Linked DNA regions of Homo sapiens: all the other regions are linked to region 2. Evidence: promoter capture Hi-C in 16 types of primary human blood cells and fetal thymus (Javierre and others, 2016). All regions are on one chromosome and are shown on one strand. The core of a region is centred on a gene start or on the middle of the fragment in contact, and the rest is flanking DNA. Distances in the headings are between cores, read along the strand shown. Region 1 overlaps DICER1 (dicer 1, ribonuclease III). Region 2 holds the start of CLMN (calmin). Region 3 overlaps DICER1 (dicer 1, ribonuclease III).

Evidence for each region. Contacts are between HindIII fragments. The CHiCAGO score rates a contact against its expected background, and 5 or more counts as called.
Region 1: a contact is called between a fragment that was not itself captured here and the fragment with the promoter of CLMN in region 2, in 5 of 17 cell types (M0 macrophages, M1 macrophages, monocytes and 2 more). The highest score is 7.6, in M0 macrophages.
Region 3: a contact is called between a fragment that was not itself captured here and the fragment with the promoter of CLMN in region 2, in 5 of 17 cell types (monocytes, total B cells, naive B cells and 2 more). The highest score is 7.1, in monocytes.

The regions. Positions count from the first base shown.
Region 1 is chr14:95,124,481-95,127,180 of GRCh38, reverse strand. It overlaps DICER1 (dicer 1, ribonuclease III), which reads left to right. Exons shown (of 27, transcript NM_177438.3): 7 at 433-601; 8 at 2,513-2,700. Among named protein-coding and RNA genes, the nearest start is that of MIR3173, 12 kb to the left of the region's middle. The HindIII fragment of the contact is 1,609 bases long and covers 646-2,254 here.
Region 2 is chr14:95,318,530-95,321,229 of GRCh38, reverse strand. It overlaps CLMN (calmin), which reads left to right and starts at 1,322. Exons shown (of 13, transcript NM_024734.4): 1 at 1,322-1,519. The coding sequence starts at 1,438. RefSeq lists a silencer at 1,342-1,601 and enhancers at 2,232-2,311, 2,332-2,451. The HindIII fragment of the contact is 9,635 bases long and covers 1-2,700 here.
Region 3 is chr14:95,147,585-95,150,284 of GRCh38, reverse strand. All of the region lies in intron 1 of DICER1 (dicer 1, ribonuclease III), which reads left to right. Among named protein-coding and RNA genes, the nearest start is that of DICER1, 8.6 kb to the left of the region's middle. The HindIII fragment of the contact is 1,583 bases long and covers 518-2,100 here.

The sequences.
Region 1 (2,700 bases), core at 201-2,700, 190 kb after region 2:
CCTCAGAGGAAGGCAGTCCTGAGTTTTGTTTAGACAGAGTCATGTAATGTCTTTGAACCTTCATTTCCTTCGTCATCCTCCCTGTGTGTGGATTCAGTTAGAAGGTATGTAAATTCCCAGCATCATGCTTGGGGATGCAGTGGATGCTCATTTGTATTCTTTTCTTTCCCCTCTTCTCCCCTTGCCTTTTGAAAACATCTTTTAAACAACACTTTACTGGTTTATAAAATACATTATTTACTGTTGAGAAATATGGTAATATAGAAAAATAATAATTAAACACCTAAAATCTCACCCCACTGCTAACATTCTGGCATTTTTTTTTTTTTTTAGTATCTATTCCCTTTTTTTTTTTTTTGCTTTTTGAAAAACTTTTTTTAAATTGCATTCTCACTACTGCAGTATTGATACCTTTTGTTTCTTATGTTAAAGGTATACTTCTCAGCCATGTGAGATTGTGGTGGATTGTGGACCATTTACTGACAGAAGTGGGCTTTATGAAAGACTGCTGATGGAATTAGAAGAAGCACTTAATTTTATCAATGATTGTAATATATCTGTACATTCAAAAGAAAGAGATTCTACTTTAATTTCGAAACAGGTAAGCATATACCAAGTAGGTATAGTGATTATATTTTGAAAGCTTTGTTAATTTTTAATATTGAAATGAAAATATGCTTAATGCGGCTCTTTTCTTTGCATTTTAGTTTAAGGTCTTAATCTTTTTAGACATTTTTCATTGAACATACCATATTAGGTTGAGTTCATTGTTATCCAGTGCACATTTATATTAAGTGTAGACTTCCCCTATTTAAGGAGCTGAGCTAGGATTCATGTCATGGTTATTTAAGTATAAGGAGTGAGTCCAATTTTTGTTTCTTTTTGGTCAGAAGAGTTAGTTCCTGTTCAAACCCTTGAATTAAACAAATTCTTCCGCAGTTTCCTAGTGTGTGTAACTGGATATGAGCCTATTGTCTCTCAGTGGTACTGCTTTGAGAAGAGATCCCTTAGGACAGTGATCCTTCCATTGTGGGCCCCACATCATCATCAGCAGCATCTGGGTGGGGTCCTCAGGACTGAATTTTACTGTTTGCAGTCTTCAGTTTTGAATTTCGATAAGCCCTCCAGTAATCTGATTCATTAAAGCTCGAGAACCACTGCCCTAGAACTTTGCAACCATTTGTGAATGTTAACACTGTATTAAATGTGGGTCTTAGTTTCTCTCCTGATGATTTTTTTCTTCTCGAGCAGCAGTGCCCACATTTTTCTCAATCTTTGCATTCTTTCTTCCTTTCCTTTTCCCTTCCCTTTCCTTTCCTCTTTCCTTTTCTTTCTTTTCTTTCCTGTCTTTTTTTCCTCTCTCTCTCTCTTTCTCTCCTCTCCTCTTTCTGTACCTCCCCTCCCTCCCCCTCCCCTCCCCCTCCTCCCCTCCCTGTCTTCCTCCCCTCCCCCTCTTCCTCCCCTCCTCCTCCCTCTCCCCTCCCTCCTCCCCCTCCCTGTCCCCTCCCTCCTCCCCCCATCTCTGCCTCCTCTCCTCCTCCCCCTCCTCCCCCTCCTCCTCTCCCCTTCTCCCTCTCTTCCTCTCCCCTCCTCCTCCCCTTCCCCCACCTTTCCCCTCTCCCTCCCCCGACCTTCTCCCTCTCCCTCTCTCCCTCTCTGCCTCTCTGCCTCTCTCCCTCTCCCTCAATTCCTCAGTTACACCCTGGCCATGGATTGACTTTCGGCTCTCAATTAGAGTTGTAAGATGCAGCACTCTGGGAGGGTCCAGGATCAGAGTCTGAATTTAGCTGAGATGTTAATGTTGAGGAGCCCTGACCTTGTGGTGGTGTTTTCATTGAAATCGGATAACAGGGGCTTTTGGAGAACTGTGACAGAGTGTGTGGAGGCTGCCCCAGTGCAGCTGTCCTAGCTCCTTTTCCACTTCCAACCAATAAAGGCCTTTCCTACTGTTTAGAAAGAAAGAAAGAAAAAAGAAATGATGATAGAGACAGCTGTGCAGTGTTTTTACAACAGTCTCACCGTGGCATCCAGAGGTGCTGACTGTAGATCGACCAAAATTCATCCACAGTTTCTAGTCAGTATAGTGGAAAACATATAATGCTGGAGAATATTGTACATAAAGTTCAAGGAAAACTGTATTGCTCTTCCTTGATGCCTAAAGTTAAATTACTGTGCTACATAAATTTTATGTAATTTGGCAGGAAGTAAATGACTCAGGTATAGTTTTAACTAATTACAGATCTAAAAATAAGCTTCATTAACCTCATACAATTGCATCTTTTAATTTCTGTTTGATTATTTTATTGAAAAAAGGAGATGGTTCTAGGCATATACATACGAAATGAGCTTGAAAAGGCTAATGGCCTCTCCCCCCACCTTCAGGGACTTAACCTAAGGCTGGGTTACATTTAAGGAGCCATTTGAGAACAACTGAAATCCCAGTTAAACCCCACATGAAAATGCTACATTATTATTATTTGGCATTAGGTTTTTTCTTTTCTTTTTTTTGTAGATACTATCAGACTGTCGTGCCGTATTGGTAGTTCTGGGACCCTGGTGTGCAGATAAAGTAGCTGGAATGATGGTAAGAGAACTACAGAAATACATCAAACATGAGCAAGAGGAGCTGCACAGGAAATTTTTATTGTTTACAGACACTTTCCTAAGGAAAATACATGCACTATGTGAAGAGCACTTCTC
Region 2 (2,700 bases), core at 73-2,572:
GGGCCACACGATAGCCCCTGCCCCAATGGATGACTGGAGGGTAGACTCACCCTCCTTCAGGGCCCTGCCTCAAGGGCACAGGTCTGTCCTTCGGGGGACCTCCATAGTTACTGGGTAATTAGTGAGCAGCCGGGTTTCCGGGATTCATTGCTGTGAACAGAGCAGCGATGCACACAGGCCCATGTGTTTAAATGCCCAGTGAGCCCTGTCCATTTTTTTCCCCCTCTTGGAACACTGAATATTTAAAGCCATTTTCTTTGTGGCCTTAGTTGTCACAGAAAGGGCCCAAGCACTGAGCTGGGAGCAGGGGGCTGGGACTTCCTGCTCCTAAGTCATTCCTCAACCTTGGGCAAATTCGGTAACTGTAGGGTCTCACTTTTAAGGAGTGTAAACCACATGGTGGGCACCAAACAGGATAAGATCCTGGAATTCTCTAGAGTTCAACAGTGGAGGTGGGGAGGGAGGGGACCGGAAGGCCTGTCCTGGCATTTTCAGTAGTCTCCACAGGAAGTTCTGTCCTGGCATTTTCACTAATTTCCAGTGACCCCACAGAGGGTCACTTGGAGACTCAGTGGCCAGAGACCCCACAGCGTACCCCAGCTCCTAGGAGTTGGCCTGCTTCTTGTTCCTTCCTAGAAGCTGGAGTCACATTACTGGACCGGAAAAGGCTCCTAGTATCTAAACCAACGAAGAAGGCCCTTCTTTCACAGCCCCCCCGCACTTTGGAGACTCCCACAACTTTACCTCCACACTAGTTTGCCCCCCGACCCAGGCCCTCGACACTCCCCACGCAGGGCTCCCAGGATTCGGGGATGGGCAGGGCTCGGGTCCTGGTCCCTCCAAGTGGGGGCTGCCTCTCCAGAGTGGACAGGGGACCCGCGGAGGGGGTGTCTTATCCCGGACGGGAGGGAGACGCTGCCTCCTGGACCAGGTACTGGGACCCACGGGCCCACCCCCAGTTGCGTCACCCGGCCCACCGCCCCCTGAGACATCACAATCTGGGGGCCGGGACCCGCGCCTCATCACAGCCGGTTTGTAACCAAACAATCCAACCTACAAACACCCCGGAAAGAAAAAAAACACAAGCTGGCCTGACCCAGCCTCCCGCCCCTGCCCCGCCCCGCCCCGCCCCTCGCCCCTCGCCCCTCGCTCCTCAGGGCCCCCGCCCCCGCACGGGGGAGTGAGAGCGAGCCCGCCGCCCCGCACCCGCCGCCCCGCGCTCGCTCGCGCCAGCCCGCGGCGGGGGCGGCCCCGACCGCGCCGCCCGCCCCTCCCCGCCCCGCCCCGCCCCGCCCGCGCCCGCGCCCCGCCCGCGCCCGCCGCGACTCCAGCTCCGCGGCGCCCTCGCCGGGTGCGTGCCGCTCGCGCGCCCGCCAGCCAGGCTCTCCGCGCCCGCCGCCCGCGCCGCGCTGGCCCGGGCTCTCCCGCCCGCGCTTCATGGCTGCACACGAGTGGGACTGGTTCCAACGCGAGGAGCTCATCGGGCAGATTAGCGACATCCGAGTGCAGAACCTGCAAGGTAACGCAGCCCAGGCTCGCCCCGGGATGGCTGGGCGCTCGGGGGGCCCGGGGCGCCGCTCCGACACTTGGCAACTCCCCCGCGCCGCCCCCGCTCGCCGGCCGCTCGTTGTTCCTGTCACTTGCCTCGAGGTGGGAGGCTGGGGTTGGATACCCGCCCCCAAGCCCCAGGGCGGCCAGCCGCGGCCAGGTTTACAGTTGCCCAGGGGGTGGGGCGCCACACGTGTGTGTGTTGTGGGGCGAGGGCTCGCATTTTCATTAGGGGGACGTCACCACCCCCTCCAGTCACCGCTGCGAGTTTGGAGAAGTTTGTACGTGGGCTCTTGGGGGCGGTGGCCCAGGTTAGGGAGGGGAGGAGACAGTGCGACTCTGTGTGTGTGTGTGTGTGTGTGTGTGTGTGTGTGTGTGAGTTCGCGCACTTCCTAAGTACCTTCGAGGCAAGGGGAATTGAATGGTGGGCGGCGCTTCAGGGGGTGAGTTGGGGAAAGCGGGGCCAGGGGTGCGGATCGGATCGGTGGGGTCAGGCAAGCACCCAACTCCAGCGGCCACTTTGCTTAGGGAGCTGCCCCTCCCCTGCAGGATCAGGACTCTAACTGGGGAGAGGGCGAGAGCCCCACCCTTCCCCCACGCTGGCCCCCAACTCCGACCCTGCCTGGGCACAGGACACTGGGACCAAGGCTTCTACCTGGGAGGTAGCTGAGAAGAGGTGAAAGAGAAACTCCAGTGGTGGAGAGCGGCTGGGTATGGCGGTGCCACACATGAAGTGTGTTTCTCTTTCAAAAGAATTTATTCAATGTGGAAACTTAGAAAGCACAAAAATATTTGAAGGAAAAAAGTCACCCATAATTTCCCCTCCACAACCTATCCACCCAACAGACAGGTGTTCTTCATGGAACTGTATCTCCAGCTTCTTTTTTTTCATATATGGGCTTTGCAGAACTAGACAGAACACCACTTCCGGCCCTTCTTCACCCACATTGACCTGTGCAGGTGAAGTTTCTGTAGCTGCTTCCCCTGCTGGCTTGGGTTTCTAGAGGGTTCAAGGTTAGGAGTGGCTAGGAGCGAGCTGGGAGGCCTGGGCAGAGAGGCGATGGGGCTGTGGGTGCCCTCCCCCAGCCAGGGCAGCGACTTTACTGTTATAGGGTAGGGAGCCCCAGCGCTGGGGGATGGCCGAGCAGTCAA
Region 3 (2,700 bases), core at 60-2,559, 170 kb after region 2:
CTCGAACTCCTGACCTCAAGTGATTCACCTGTCTCTGCCTCCCAAAGTGCTGGGATTGCAGGCATGAGCCACCGTGCCCGGCCTACAAAATACAGTTTGTAAAATGAGAAACTAAGTTGAGAAATAAGACTGTCTTGAGTTGGGTTTTCCCAGTTGCACCTGTAACTTTAAGAACTTTAAAATTGTTTCTGAAACATCTTCAAGGTTGGAGTCAGATTAGTTTGCATTAATATGGAAGAGAATTTTGTAGTGGTTGGAAGTTAACTGAGAAAACTAGGATGGGTATAGTCAGATGATACCAAAATTATCATTGCACTAACTGATACCTCTCTAGCTTTGACAGTTTCTAGTTAGCCTCGAATTATTCTTTTGGACTTGGGTGCCAAGATCGAGGATGTTAAGCTTGTTGAAATAATTTGGGTTGTTTAAAGTCTTTTAATTTAAAAGTGTCTAATTTGAGTTTTATATTTGACCTATAAAAAGCTGCTTTAATTCAATAGTTAAGATCAATAAAGCTTATTCTCAACATCGAATTAATTAATAAAAAATTATTCATGGATATTTACTTTCCTACATTCCAAACTACCTAGTCATTACAAATTTACAGTAACGTGAAAATCAAACAAATCATGAACTATGTAATATGAATGTGAGTATAGTATGAGATTATCTTTCAAAGATCTTAATACTCTTGAGGGAGATGGCAATAACAGCTAATATATGGGGCAGTAATATAATGAAGCCCGTGATGATTTGGGTGTTGTAGCTAGCCCATGTGTGCTAAATGAGAGGGGAGGGGACTAAAGTGATAGAGGTTTTTAGGGAAAGTTGTGGGGTGGGGTTCGTGAGAGGTGGCGAACTCTGTTGGTACACACTTGTTTTGGTGTTACGGGAAAGGCAGATAACATGAGATGTTGCGCAGAAGCTATGATGATGTAGTGCGTCACACTCTTGCCTGGACCTTTTAATATATTTGCTTTCCTGTCTCAATAAACATCCATCTTAACTCAGTAGTCTCTTATGTTCATTTTGTCTCTGGATTGACCTCCCTTTAGTATTTAAGTATTCATGTTATATATCTTAAAACAGCTTGACAAAGAGAAAATTGTGGCTCCTTTTTCCCAATGGATGCTCTTTCTTGGTGTAAAGGTAGAGGGTAGTCGTGAATTGAATAAAATTCTAGCACTCGTTGCACAGTGTTAAGAGTAAAGTATGTGCCTGTAGTCTCAGCTGCTCAGGAGGCTGAGATGGCAGGATCACTTGAGCCCAGGAGTTCAAGGCTGTAATGTGCTCTGATGGTGCCTGTAAATAGACAGAGTGAGACCCTGTCTCCAAATAAAAAATAAAAAAAAAGAGTAAAGTACAGAAACTTGGAATCAAATATGAACCTTAAAACTCACCTTGAAAGCTAGTGATGTGTTAAGTATTTATGTCTCTTGAAACAAAACTGTAGGACAAATGTCATTATAGGTAACTTGAAGGGGAGGGGTGGGTATCTGTGCTGTTTTGATGTGTTGAAATGTCATCTTTCTGAGAAGTACTCCAAGAAGTAAGCGGACCTTTGGCTTGCAGCCTGGAGACACTTCTTATATGGAGATCTTTGATGGGTGGAATTTGTTAAGATGGTATTTGACCTGTGTTCCACTTCAATTTTGGACCAATCTAATTTTAGGCATGATTATATTGAAATCTAAACATAACATATTTATGTTAGAGATTTAGAGAAACCCAGAAATTTATTTGGTTCAGATACAGTAATGCATGAAAAGAAGGCTAATGAATTTGTGGTTTAAATTGTAGGTACTATGATACTGTAAAATATATATTTGGTCTGTCCTCTACCCTATTCTTAGGCATACAAGGCTTGAAATCCTTAGAATCTCCAAAGTGATGTGTTTTTGTATGCTAATGATCGACTGGTGGCCGGTAGCTCCTGGTAGCTTCAAAATGGGGGCTGGTTACTGGGAAGACTAAGGCATGATTAGAGGTTTGGACTCAGACCCACCCTCCAACCTCTGGGGAGGGAAGAGGGGCTGAAGGTTAATCATGCCCAGGTAATGAGTCTTCATAAAAACCCTGAAGGACAGAGTTTGGAAAGCTTCTGGATAGTTGAACACATGGAGGTTCCTGGAGGGCAGTTTGCTCTGGGAGGGCTTGGAAGCTCTATACCCCTTCTCCATACCTAACCCTGTGCATGTCTTCATCTGGATCTTTGTAATATCCTTTACCTAATTAATTTACTTATTTTTATTGAGATGGACTCTCGCTGTGTTGACCAGGCCGGTCTCGAACTGCTGGCCTCAAGCGATCCTCCCATCTTGGCCTTCCAAAGTGCTAGGATTACAGGCGTGTGCCACTGCACCCAGCCTGTAATATCCTTTATAATAAACTGGTAAACATAAGTAAGTTTTTCCCCAAGGACTGTGAGCTGGTCTAGCAAGTTAAATCCCAGGAGGGCGTTGTGGGAACCCCAGTTAACTGATTGGTCGGGAGCACGGGCAAAAAATAACCTGAGGTTTGCAATTGACACGGAAGGGTGGGGGAGGTCTTGAGGACTGGAGCCCTCAACCTGTGGGATCTGATGCTATCTCCAGGTAGATAATGTTGGAATTCAGTCATTAATAGAAGACACCCAGCTGGTGTCCGCTGCAGAATTGATGGCTTGCTTGTTGTTGGGGAGAAACCCCACACATTTGGTCA